2 separate regions of the Homo sapiens genome follow, and region 1 is linked to region 2. Evidence: promoter capture Hi-C in 16 types of primary human blood cells and fetal thymus (Javierre and others, 2016). All regions are on one chromosome and are shown on one strand. Each heading gives the region's core, a stretch centred on a gene start or on the middle of the fragment in contact. The rest is flanking DNA. Distances are from core to core; before and after follow the strand shown. Region 1 overlaps FNIP1 (folliculin interacting protein 1). Region 2 holds the start of ACSL6-AS1 (ACSL6 antisense RNA 1).

Region 1 (6,755 bases), core at 816-3,315, 230 kb after region 2:
TGGGACAGAGTGGGAAGAAATTAGAAGCAGAGGCCAGTGAAGCACTGTTGCAGTTATTACAGGTTAGAGAGGGCAGGGTCATGATGGTAGCAGAGAGATGGGAAACAGCGATCCATATCTGGGAGAAGAGGATTCTATGCTTGACTGAATATGGGATGTGAAGGAGAAGAAGTTGTGGCCTCAATCTACCCAATTGGGAGACTGGTGCATGGGCCATGGTAGTGCCAAAACATAGAGCTATTAAGGTAAGGAATGCAGGAGGGAAGAGTAGGCATGGTGGAGAAGATAGAGAAATTTAGTTGTACTTAGTAAGTTTGAGGTAGGCTGAGATTCAGGTAACAGTTTTCTTAGTAGGCAATTGGGGTGAGAGATTTTGAAATTTTACCCTTTAGATCAATCACTTTTAGATCATTACAGTAATTTTTTTTTTTTTTTTTGGTTTGAATTTGTTTTATTCAGATACAGTTTACATGCAGTAAAATTTATTCTTTTTTAGGTTTGCAGTTTGATGAGTCTGACAATGTATAGTCATATAACCAACACTACAGTTGAGATATAGAATATTACCCCAGAAAGTTCCCTGTACCTTTTAGTGATTCTCTTCTCCCCCACATCGAGCCCCTGGCAAGAACTGATGTGATTTTTATCCCTACAGTTTGGCCTTTTCCAGAATGTCTTATAAATGATATCATACATTGTGTAGCCTTTTGTATCAGGTTCTTTCACTTAGTATAAATGCCTTTGACATTCCTCTATGCATGTTATTCCTCCATGTATCAGTAGTGTATTTTTGTTGCAAAGTAGTATTCCTTTGTATGTGTGAAGGTTTTAAGAAACACACCTACCTGGGCTACAAACCCTAATATATCTGAATTCAGAAGGATAGCCAGGAAATGGTAATTTCTTGGACTCCCGTCTCATGGTATGAGATAATGGTACTAGGGAGTAGAGTGCAAGGAGGTCATAGTGTCAAATGTGCGTAGGTGGAATGGAACATAAGAGGCTGTGCTTAGGACTGTTTTTCATGTTTGGTTTAGAAGGGAAGGTAAATGTGACAGTAACGTAAAACTTTTTAAAGATAAATAGGTGAAAGAAACAAATCAGAGGTATAAGGAATAGGGAAGATTTAACAGGAGACTAGAAGGGATGGATCAACTCTGTAGACGTGGAGAGGGAGAGGAACGCTTTTTTCTTTAAGGTAAAAGGAGAACTAGTATGATTGGGTGCTGTTATAAGTGAATTGAGAGGACTTACAGATTTTTGATCTGAGTGTCTGGATGAGTAGACTTAGTAGGTTGACTTTAGAGAAGTAAACTTCTAATTAATTCAAATACTGGTTTTCCTGTTTTGGAACATGTTCCTTTTTCATCCATTGTTTCTTAGTTTTGTGGCACTTTGCTGGTTTTCAAGCTAGTGGGCATCAAGCTTTTCTCTGGCCAGTTCTTTCCTATCCTGAAACCCTTCAGTGGAAAAACAAATCATGTTCTGCCTTAAGAGTATGATGGTTATTAAGCTATTTTGTATTCCTTGGAGGAAAGGATATACAATCCTGGGGATTCAAAGAAGTGCTTCTTGAAATGAATGTGAAGTTTTAGTATCAGACTAGAGGTACAGACAATCATAATGTAGAAAGCATAGATGTTTCCCTTTCTCCAATTTTCTTTTCCTTGGGGTTACATCTTTTAATAGTTAATTCTGAGTTTACTAGTTAGAATTTATGTCTTTGTCACAGGAAGGGGAACATCACACTCTGGGGACTGTTGTGGGGAGTGGGGAGGGATAGCGTTGGGAGATATACCTAATGCTAGATGACGAGTTAGTGGGTGCAGCGCACTAGCATGGCACATGTATACGTATGTAACTAACCTGCACAATGTGCACATGTACCCTAAAACTTAAAGTATAATAATAAAAAAAAGAATTTATATCTTTGTATTGTTTCTAATTCATCTTTCCTGAAAATGTTTGGTGCACATACAAACAAACTGATATGTTTGTTTGCCTCTACACTGATGGTATACATACAGTTTTGAATTTTGCTTTTCTTCACGTGATAATCACTTTGGAGATCTTGATGTGTGTGATGCACATTCTAAGGGTTGAAGAGAGAAACATTATCCCTATACCAATCTTAGAGGTAGTCTTACTTTATAGACAAGTAATTGAGGACTAGAGAAGTTAAGGCACTTCTCTACAATCACAGAGAATCAGTATGTGGCACAGTTGGAATTTAAATCTAAGTTTGGCTGATTCAGAGCCCATTCTTCTGTTTTTGGCATGTTGGGTGTGAGGAATGATTCTTGGTTTCAGCATATTGTCTGTTACCTTATAGATTAATAGCCCATTGTATTAACGCATTTCTGTTAGTGAATTAGTCCTATCGGGATACATACACAGATGCACCCCTTGGTTTTTCTAAAAGAACATGCTGATACATATTAAAATACAAACCCACTGAAAGACAGTGCTTGTAAAGCATTCTAAAATGTCTCTATTTCATGAACCAGCTACTTAATGTATTACAATATGGTAGTCTTATTGAGGTTTATAAATTAAAAGGCAGTATTTTCTGCTAGACTTGTCTACTTGAACTCAACACAAGAGTTCAGATTAGTGAGCCAGTTTACATACTGACCAGTCTGGGCCCTGTGATCATTAGGGCCTGCTTTTCAACTTGCTTGTCAGCTGGGTAGAATACAAGCTTGCTATGGCTTCCAGGAATGTGTATGTGGACTTGTCTGAAATAGCAGAGTTGGGACATACAGAAGTTGAGAAAGGAACTATTGTGTTTTCTTGTTTACTGCATGAACCTCAATTTGTTATAGATACGGATTGTTGAAGACCTGGGTTCTAAGCCATTGGTTGCCTGAGCACTCTTACTCTGGACCAGACCTTGTTTAGTTAAAGCATCCTTAAAAAATACATACATTGGCATTTCTGGTCTGCACTAGCTGCCAGGACAGCACTTAGTTGAACAGAATACTTAGATTGATTTTCTCGTAGTCATGTACTTATAGTAGAAGAGATAAAGGAATTGAAAAGCAGTCGTAATTGCTTCTGTAAAAATCCCAGACTCTTCAGTGAAACAAAAAAGCAGGATGTTACTTGTGAAATGGTAGGACTGGATAGATGGAGCCTTTTGCAAAAACAGATTTTGTCATGGGCAACAGATTTCTTAAAGGCTCCCGGTCCCTCATGGTTCCATTGCTGGGATTAAGCCTTTTTGCATTGCAGCATGGAGAGCCTTTTATTTGAGTTAAATTCAGACTTCTTGGTATGTCATCTGACAGTCTTGTGGTTTCAGATAAATATGGTTCATTGCTGTTATTAACCTGGGTTGACAGTTGTGCATGACTGGAGTTTTTAGGGATTTTGAAAAGTGGAACTGCTTAAGAGAAATAGGATGCCACTAATGTAGAGCTTAACTTAATGTGATATTCAAGTGTGTTAACATCAAAATAATCCAAATCTAGTTATTAATTTGGTGATATATTTGCTTTAAAATATCTGAAAATTTTAAATGCCAAGATTTTAGATACTTATTTTATTGAAAGTTAAATTATGATAATAACCTTAATTATTAGAATGACTTCTTGAAAATGTTTTAAGCAAGTATTAATTATTGTTTTAAAATATGTAATTCATAAATACTGTACAGTATGTTAGTCCTTGGTTTATGTTTATTTTATGATTCTCTTTCTGCCATTTGTTGCTCTTCTTTCTTGGTATGTTTACATGGGAACCTTCACTGCAGATTTTTGGAAAGCAGTGTGCTTTTCTGTTTGTATCCCATATATATATTTATAAGTAAAATGTAAATTAAAAGCTTGACATTGTATTAGTGTATTGATCATAATCCAGTTATTTTTATAGTTAACGGTATTCTCTAATTTTACTGACATGGACCTGAATTTATTTAGAATTATTTTTGATGCTTTGTGAACACCTTAAATGTGTGTCCCCACTTAGTCATTTGAGTTAAATAATTTGAATTAGTAATGGCCTTATACTAATTTAGGTACATTGTTTTTATTTTATTTTATTTTATTATTAGTTTTTGAGACGAAGTCTTGCTCTCTCGCCCACGCTGGAGTGCAGTGGCACAATTTTGGCTCACTGCAACCTCAGCCTCCCGGGTTCAAGCAATTCTCCTGCCTCAGGCTCCCGAGTAGCTGGGATTACATTACCCCTGGCTAATTTTTGTATCTGTAGTAGAGATGGGGCTTCACCATGGTGGCCAGGCTGGTCTTGAACTCCTGACCTCAGGTGGTCCAACCGCATCAGCCTCCCAAAGTGCTGGGATTACAGGCATGAGCCACCATGCTGGCCTGTTTTTTTATTTTAAATAAGTCACATTATACAAGTTCCCCCCTTTTTAAAAAAAAAAAAAAACTGTGTATGACCCAGTTAAACAACTTGGATACTGGGTCTCTATTGTTTTAGCTCATTTAACATTCTTCCAGTGTTTTGCTGTAGTTTTTAAGTTCACAGGTATATAGAGTTAATGTCAGAAAGTTAAACCACATAGGCCAGGTACATTTCAATTAGGTATACGTATTGCTGAAAAATACTAAGTAAATATGATAGCATATTATGATACATGATAGCTCTTATGGTGTAGAAATCTACTATTTGCCAATGTGCCATTTTTACCAAGAATTCATGTTAATGAATTTTTTGTGCATATAATTTTATGCATGTTAAATTGTACAATAAATATAAATGAATTTTGGAACTTTAATGCTGGTAATAGTTTATATTTTTGTTATGGTATTTTTTTCACATCTAATTTGATTAAATGATGATAGTAATACTATGGCCAAGCAGCTGACTATCCCTGTCATTGAAATGTAAATTACAGTCACTAGAATTACATTAATACCCTGAGTATAGTTGAATTTATTGTGACAAAATAAGTCTAAAGATTAGTGTTCTTACAACATTTAGTATATTAAGATGTAGTTAGAGAAAAATAATTGGATATAAACAGCCTATATAAATATTAATCAAGATTTTGTGATACAAATAAGTCCTAAATTGATAACTAAAGTCTTTGGAACTGAGATTAGCAAATCAGTCATGGAATTATTTTCCTGTCAGATTAGAGAATTATAATTCCTTAGATAGAAAAATGATTACTATATATACAGGCTTCCAGCATTAAAATGGTACTCCTTGAAATAGGCATTTACTCACTTGTTTAGCAAAGTGGTTGAAGTTTTATTACATTCATTATCTCTTACAGCTTCTTCCTATGGTATTTAGGTTAATTTGTGATTAACCAGTTGTCAATCTGGAAGGAATTTCCACAGCTTACAAGATCAAATTGAATTATATAGAAACTGGTACAAAATGATGTCTTGTCACTGATGGTCCTACCTGCTTAAGAACATTTCTTTTCTTTTTTTTTTTTTTTTTTTTTTTTTTTTTGAGACAGAATCTCACTCTGTCACCAGGCTAGAGTGCAGTGGTGCAATCTTGGCTTACTGCAGCCTCCGCCTCCCAGGTTCAAGCGATTCTCCCGCCTCAGCCTCCCGAGTAGCTGGGACTACAGGTGCACACCATGCCCAGCTAATTTTTGTATTTTTAGTAGAGACAGGGTTTCACCATGTTGGCCAGGATGGTCTTGATCTCTTGACCTCGTGATCTGCCCACCTCGGCCTCCCAAAGTGCTGGGATTACAGGCGTGAGCCACCACGCCTGGCCAAGAAAATTTCTTTTAAGCCTGATAGTAGGAGATACTTTCAAGTGGAGTGCAGTAGAGTTGCAGTGATATAAGCCGTAGTGGTTAATGTTAGGTCTCAGCCTGACTGGATTATGGAATACCTGGAAATTGGAAGAGCATTGTTTCTGAGTGTGTCTGTGAAGAGTGTTTCCCGAGGAGATTTGGTGTGGGAGTCTGTGGACGGAGTGCAGATCAGCCCTCAACATAGATAGGCACCATCCAGTTGGCTGGGGGCCTAGACAGAACAAAAAAAAGGCAGAGGAAATGGGATTTCCTCTGTCTTTCTTCTGGAGCTGGAACATTGTCCTGCCTTTGGACATTAGAACTCCAGGCTGTCTGGCCTTTGAACTCAAAGACCTATACCAGTGGCTCACCAGGTTCTTAGGCCTTTGGCCTCAGACTGAGAATTACACCATTGGTTTCCTTGGTTCTGAGGTATTTGGATTTGGACTGAGCCATGCTGCTTGCATCTCGGGTCTCCACCTTGCAGATGGCCTGTCATGGGACTTCTCAGCCTCTGTAATCTCATGAGCCAATTTTCCTAATAAATCCCCTCTCATATATCTGTATATATATTCTGTTGTTTCCACCTCTCTAGAGAACCCTGACCAGTACAGAAACCTTCTAGACTATGACATTTGGGCTTGACTGCTTCCTGGCTAAATAACTTAGAAGGAGATTTAACCAGCATTCAACTGAATTGTAGATTGGGACCGGGGAAATTTAAACATTTGGATTGGAGAAGTCTCTGCTTGTTAAAGATAAGTAGGGGCAGGGCTTTAAAAACTACAGGCCAGCTGCAGTGGCTGATGCCTGTAATCTCAGCACTTTGGGAAGCCAAGGCAGGAGGATTGATTGAGACCAGGAGTTTGAGACCAGCCTGGGCCACATAGCAAGACCCTTTCTGTAGTCCTCACTACTTGGAGGCTGAGGCAGAAGGATCACTTGTGCCCAGGAGTTCAAGGTTACACTATTCCAGCCTGAGTGACAGAGTGAGACCGTGTCTCAAAAGAAAAAAAAAAAAGAAAAA
Region 2 (7,030 bases), core at 2,412-4,911:
GTGCAGCGGTTATGTCAAGGAGGTGTGGGTAGAACTGGGCATGTGGATGACCAAGGTGACACTATTCCTGTGCTCCAGAAGCCTCCTCCACAAGTCCATGGTCTCCTTGAGGGCAGGGCCAGGTGTCTCATGTCTATGTCCCCAACCCAGAGTTGGGCACACAGGGTACATAAGAGTTTATTGCATAAACTAAAGAATTCCCTGAGCGTAATTTATTTTAATAATGTGTTTTATAAGCTGTTTCCTTACCACAAGTCAATCAGTAAACAACAGATTTTGAGTGTGCTCCTGCTAGGATGCTAGGCTCTGTGCCCAGGTGGGGGATGATGCCAATATGTTAGAAGCAGTAGGGAAAAGCAGGTGTAAACTCCTTGCAGGCAGGGCCAGGTTACCCTTCACTGGAGAACCCTGTGTGCTGAGAACCAGTGCAGCCTGGAATAGAAGGAGGTGCTCCAGAAGTGTTTGTTGAATGAATGAATGAATCAACTAGTGAACCCACAGCTTCTGGGTGACCAGTTTTGTGGAAGAGAGTCTTCTCTGAGGGCTGCTGCTTCCTTAGAGCTCCAAGGTTCCAGTCACCTGACAGATTGGGAGCTTGGGCCACTCTGCCAAGCATAGATGAGAGGAATTCCCAGTCAAGGTCCTCACCTCACTGGATGGTCTGGTGTGATGCTCCCATTCCTTGCGTTGGCCTCGCCAGAGTTCCCACTAACCATCCACTGGGTCCACAGATTGGTGGGGTTAGGGGAGTGCTGTGGATGAGATGCTGCTTTGAGCCCTTGGGGTTGTCCTTCAGGATGCCCAGGGGTGGTTCCTCATCATTTGCTCGGCTGCCTCGGGAGATCCGTGGTAGGTGTGGTTATTCCTGGGCCTACTTCCTTTGTGTAGCTCCTAATTCATGTGAATCTTGGGGCCTGGGACAGGCAGAAATGGGAAGATGGGAAGTGGATTGGAACAGAAATTTCAAGCCAAGCCGAGCTATCTATTCTGAGACCCAACCAATACTCTCAGAGCCAGAAGGATTTCAAATCCCAAGAAGTCTCACCTGACCCTATTTGCCAGCTCTTCCCAGAGATACCCTTCCTCTCCCTGCACCTAAGCCAGGCATGTAGTAGGGGCGTCTGGGGGAGTTGGGAATGGCTTCTGATTTGCCATCTGCCCATTTAAGCTTGTGTTCCGAGATCACTGTCTCCTGGGAATTTAGAGCAGGAAGCCAGGCCAGTGAGGGAACAATCAGCATCTTAGTGCTCAGCCCCTGGTATAAGCAAATGTGGGCTGGCACCTGTTAGGGCCAGGAACAGACTTAGTAATTGATAGCTATTGGAGAAATGAGTGAGTAGGTAGGCCCAGGTTGACTGGGCAGCTCTGGGACAGACCCTATTGACCAGTGCCTGGGACCCCGCCTCACTCTCAGCACAGCCTGGCCCACCAGTGCAGGATGTGGATTCCAAGGGACTGATCAAGACTCAGCTCTGCTACAAAGCTCTGCTTTTCCCTCCAACTCATGGACTGTTGTAGGGGCTGAGACTCCCCCGTGGGACTCCTCCTGCCCACGCACCCCTGTCCCAGCCTTAGCTTTGCTGCAGACCATTCTAGATACTGACTGCAGATCCTGCCTCATAAACAGGCAGAAATGTCACTGGGAGAGACAGTGAGGTCAACTAGATATTGGATAGAAAGGGCAGCTAGAGGCTACACAGCAAGGACAGTTAGAGCTGGGACAGAGATCAGCAAGGTGGCATGTGAGCCGGCCAGTGAGATTGGACAGGGAGGTTGGCTGGAGTAAGGCCTTAAGGCCTTTAGGCCAGTGAGAGGAAGACAATTGTCAGTATGGAGAAAGTAGACTCAGTGGAGACCCATCCAGGCCTGCAGTGACCCCTCTGCTTTGGAAGGGAAGCTCTGGCCACTCTGCCCTGCCACTAGAGCTGATGCTGCATGAAGCCACATAGACCCCAGGACCCTGCTTAGTGGCTGGAGAACTTCAGTGTTCATCGTGACTGTGCTTTCCAGCAGATGGGCTGGATGTGATTCTCTGAGGACACCTTCAACTCACGCATTTTTTTTTCTTTTTTCTTTTTTTTGAGACAGAGCTTTGTTGTTGTTGCCCAGGCTGGAGTGCAATGGCGTGATCTTGGCTCACTGCAACCTCTGCCTCCTGGGTTCAAGTGATTCTCCTGCCTCAGCCTCCCATGTAGCTGGGATTACAGGTGCCTGCCACCACACCCGGCTAATTTTTTTGTATTTTTGGTAGAGACGGGGTTTCACCACATTGGCCAGGCTGTTCTCAAACTCCTGACCTCAGGTGATCTAGGTGATCCACCCATCTCAGCCTCCCAAAGTGCTGGGATTACAGGTGTGAGCCACCATGCCCAGCCAACTCATGCATATTCTGTAGGCCAACTCCCCTAAGCCTAGGTCTGTCTGTGGTGGCAGGGAGGGTTTAGAGAGAAATGGAGGTTGGGCCTTCCCCCATCCAGTAGGCTGGTAGGGGATTTGGGTGCATGTGTCCCCGATCTCCTTGCCACAGACCAGATATGGAAGGCTATGACCTGTGGAACCAACTTTTCTAGGTCATTCTGAAGTGTCCTGTCTCCTCTGTCTCCTGCTTCTGCTCCCTGGACAGTTCCATGACCTCTCACAGAGACATGCCTGGCACCTTGGCTTCATGAAGATACTGTGTGGCCCAAACGAATACCAGTTTCCTTTAGCCCCAGAGGCTGACAAGACATATCTCCCTTGGATTTCAGGAGATCTGTGGAGCATCCACCAACCCACCTGTTGGTTCAAAATCAACTCCAAAGTGGTTTTGTCCTAGATGTCCTCTCAGGCTCAACGGCCACATGTGTGCTTGAGATCTTGCTGTGCTATTTCTCCTGGTAGTGGGAGTCTGAGTGGCATCCATGCTCCACAGGGCACAAGGTCTGTGCTGTGGTTAATAGGCAGCTCCTGGTGACCATGGGGTGTCAGAGAAGCAGTGTTCTGGCTGCTGAAAGTCAGCCAAAAAAAAAAAAAAAGGATAGAAGCCTGACCTTGGCATGGAGCCTTGGTTGAAGAAGGAGCCCCAGCCCTGGAAGCTAGTGATCCCGCACATGGGGCTCTGGGCTGCCCTTATCCCCACCTCCCACTCGAGGGCACTTGTGGCAGCAGGAGTGTGGGCACCAGGCAGAGGACACACGTGCCCTCCATTATTGAAAGTCCTCTCTGTGCACTGCAGGGTCTTCTTGTGTACCAGCACTTTTTTCTTCCCATTTCTTTCTCCATGTTTACCATCAACACTGTGAGAATAACTGAAGTTTCCTTATCCAAAAAAAGGGTGCTACTCCAGATTCCGCCACTACTGTTTTCGAAAAGCACAAAACCAACAGAGCCTCAGAGGGGGCTGACCCTCTTTCTGGATCCCACCTCCATCCCCCCGAACTTACGTAGTGCTTTCCTCAGCAGCCACCGAGGCCTCCAGTTCCGTCTCCAAAGATGATGGGTTCCTTCCAGTGGGTGCAAAGTGAGAGCCCCAGTGATTGGTGTTCATAGTGGGTCAGTGTGAACAACGCCCAATGGCCTGCCTGGGCCAGCTGGGGCCTCGTTTTGCTTTGGTCTGAAAGACATTTTTGTTTTCTGGTGAGAACAGCCCCAGCCTGGCCAGGAGCCGGCCAGCGGCAGGAATACAAACCCTTTCATGTGACAGACCCAAGTGGAGTGATGCCCTCCTGCCAGCAGCAGGCCCTCCCCTGCCGCTCCTGGGAGGCGGCCATTTGCATATTTCCCATTCATCCTGGCCTTGAAAAGGAGGCCTGAGTTCCCAGTGCTCCTGCCCGCTGAGGGCTGGGCCGCTCCAGTCTAATGTTAACTCTGTGGACACTGTAGGCTCTCACAGGCCAACAGCAGAACTTGACCGCTTGCTGCCGGAGGGAGAGCAGCTTAAGGCTGCAGCTGCTGTGCCGCCTGACCTCCAGAGGGGGGATTCAGGAGGTGGCAGATTCCCGTTGACCAGCACAGCCTTTTGCTAAACTGGAGGAAATTCAGATTTGTTTCTTCTTGAGGCATTCAGAAGAGGAATTTTGTCAGACTATGGGGATGCCAGAATATTCAGCTATTTACCAAATTTGCCAGAAAATGTGCCCTTAACCAAGGGCAAAACTCTTTTTGTCTTGCTCACTTTCTAGTCTACAAAAAAATTCAGTGACTCTGGAATGGTAGGTGAAGGAGCCATGCCGGATCCTGGCTGCAGCAGCAATCCCTTTGCCAAGGATGTAGGAGCACAGCTTGCCTGGGGCACTTTTGCATCCCCAGGGCTGAGTGCCATTAGCTTGTGGGCTGTGACTCTGAAGGCATGAGGCAGATATACAGTACCCATCACCATCTTTTTCCTTTCTCCCATAGCTAAGTGCCATCCTGCCAGCCTCAGCTTCCTGCCCCAGTCCTCAGTGCAGACAGGCCTCTGCCTCCTTCCCGCCACTGTGTGAGGGCTCCTGCCAGGGGCCCCAACATCTTACAGGCTCTTCCTGTGACTTACCAACCCACTTCTGTCCCTCTTCGATAGCCCTGTTCTCTACCCTTTCCCACCCAGCTCGGATCCTCTCCTTGTTCTCCCTCCCTGGCTAAGGATGTCTCAGGTTCTGTCTTTTGTGCATTTCTCCCCTAGCACGTGTCCCCAGGAGACCAGCAGGGCTCCTAAGTGAACAAGCAGGCAAGCAAATCCCTCTGTTGCTCCCCCCACCTCAGTGACCCCCAACCATATATTGGCAGGACCCTCCCTACTTCAAGGAGCTTCCCTCTAGCTGGAGGAGGTCGCATCCCATCCTGCTTGTACCCCAGCCACCTGCAGTTGAGCTCTGAGTGCATGGCCTCGCCATGAGCAGCCCATATGCCCTTTACTGGTTCAAGCTTAGTTTGCAGTGTGTCCTAAGTTTGAGCCAGTGGCAGAAATGAATCATTGCTCCTGAGGCCGGGACACCAGCAGTCCTAACGTGGACATGGCCGGAAAGGCAAAGGATCGTGTTACAGCCACAGGATTTGGCTTCCTGCACAGGAGGGCCTGGCCAGGGAGTGTCCCTGTGCCTGTGAGGTGATGGTGACCCTGGTCAGTATTCCTAGGGTCCTGCCTGCTGTCCCAGGGCTTGGCGTGGAAGGATCTGAACTCGTCCACACCATCAGTCCTGGTTATCATACCCTGTAAATATTTCCAAAGGGACTACTGCTGTTTTTTTAGCCCCTGCTGTCCCTCTTTGCTCTGAGAACTTTGTCCTGCCTAATTCATGGTGAGGGCAACGTTTATCTCAGAGCGTGTGAAAGACACTGTGTATCTGTTTGCTCCTCTGTTCTCAAGGCTATTCATATTTTAAAGTTCCTGAAAGCATTGTTTGTGCCTGGCTTCCTGGTGCTAGCATCAGGAATGTGGACCCACATTCCCTGAGCAGGGCTTAGGGTGAGTGAGATTTTTGAGAGGTACTGTCATGAGGATGGGGAGGCCAGCGGGCAGTGGAGGCTGCTAAAGGGAGGCATGCTCACAGTGAGCTTGGGCTAGTTGCAACAGGTGGCTCTGTAAAGTACTCAGTCACAGCCAGCCTTAGCTGGGCCTTTCTACATTCAAGGGGCTTAATTGAACCATCAGAGCTATGATCAGGCTCCTTGGGGAAGCTTGGCAGGTGAGCCACCATGTAACCTGGCAACCCCGTATCGTATCCTGGGCCTCTATCTCATGGGGGATGTACAGTGGGTCCCACCTGGCAATTCCCAAGTCAGGGAGGCTCTTTGCTCCATTTCTGCCCTGGTCTTATGTGGTTCTGTGAATCTAATTAAAACCCAAGAGGAAAATGGAGAGCAAACCCTTCTCTCACAGCAGAGAGAAGCTTGAATCCCTGTGTGGAGAGGGCAGGTGTTGGGCAAGTGTGCGCTGCTGTGTTTGCACCTCTGCAGGTCAGGGTTGTACATGTGTGATGGTGAAGGCTGTGCATTTCTCAACCTGGCAACTGGGCTGCACACTGCTTGGGGTGAAACTACTCCCTCAGCTCTATGCCTCTGGCACTCTGTGGGATTTCCCACAGACCACTGGATTTCCTGCCCCAGAGGCTGCCTTGAGAAGCATTAAAGGAAGCTTTCATATTAAAAGCATCTCTGAAGATATTTGGAGAAAAGTAAGGGTCCTGCCTAGAAGAAAGGTGAAGTGACTTTGTGGGCTGATCGGGGGTGCTCAGATATTCGTTCATTTTAATCGGGGTGGGTTGGGGGAAGCTAGGGCCAAGTTCCAGATGAGGGTCGCTGAGGCAGGACGCTCTTCTCATGGCTCACCCAGATGGTAGGGTGAGTAGTGGAAGCTGTTATCTGCTCCAGGGAAGGTGTTGCAAGCCTGTGGGCTCTAGACTTGCCAGGCAATTGGGCAAACAGCTTTCAAGAGGGAGCTCAGAGCACTGGGTCCTGTCCTGGGACATTCTTGCAGCAAGGGAGCAGGGTTAAATTTGGGTGGACAGTGGCCCAGTGCAGGCAGACTCGTAATTGCCCAGAAGCACCTGATGTGGGTAGGGCCTGGGGGTGGTAGTAAGCTGGCTCCTGTGGCCTAGACTTGTCTTTTACTTATTAGCAGGTGCCACCATGAGTCTAGCTGTCTACCTTATGATCAGAATGAGTGTCCAATTCAAAATACGCAGTGATCATACTTGTGTGCTCAGCCACATGTTAGCCATGGAAATAGTAGTGAAAATGCTATGGAAGTAGCCACCCACACCCCTAAGCCTCACAGATCTTGCAGTAGTGAGACCCCCGAGAGCCCCTGGGACCTCAGTCTCTCAGTCTGGCAGAGGTGCTGCAGGACTTCAGAGCTCAGCTTCGGTCCTAATAGGCAAGGGTGTGGGTTCTGGCTCCAGGGTGACCATTCCCATGCAAACTAGGCAACAGTATCTCTTAGTGCAGGCATGAGAGCAGGGCTGGTGTGCTGCCCTGGGGTCTTGTGGTGGAGATCAGCCACTATCTTCCACCTGCTGGCTCTGATCCTTGGTCCAGAGTGTCCTCACTCCCCAGAGCATCCCTAAGCAGATGT

What was found. Contacts are between HindIII fragments. The CHiCAGO score rates a contact against its expected background, and 5 or more counts as called.
Region 1: a fragment that was not itself captured here is called in contact with the fragment with the promoter of ACSL6-AS1 in region 2 in 7 of 17 cell types (M1 macrophages, total CD4 T cells, total CD8 T cells and 4 more); the score reaches 9.6 in M1 macrophages.

What each region holds. Positions count from the first base shown.
Region 1 is chr5:131,766,103-131,772,857 of GRCh38, reverse strand. All of the region lies in intron 1 of FNIP1 (folliculin interacting protein 1), which reads left to right. Among named protein-coding and RNA genes, the nearest start is that of FNIP1, 28 kb to the left of the region's middle. The HindIII fragment of the contact is 1,276 bases long and covers 1,428-2,703 here.
Region 2 is chr5:132,000,204-132,007,233 of GRCh38, reverse strand. ACSL6-AS1 (ACSL6 antisense RNA 1) reads right to left here and starts at 3,661. Exons shown (of 2, transcript NR_183256.1): 1 at 3,423-3,661; 2 at 198-914. The region is part of intron 1 of ACSL6 (acyl-CoA synthetase long chain family member 6); the gene reads left to right. RefSeq lists an enhancer at 4,885-5,480. The HindIII fragment of the contact is 3,713 bases long and covers 1,171-4,883 here.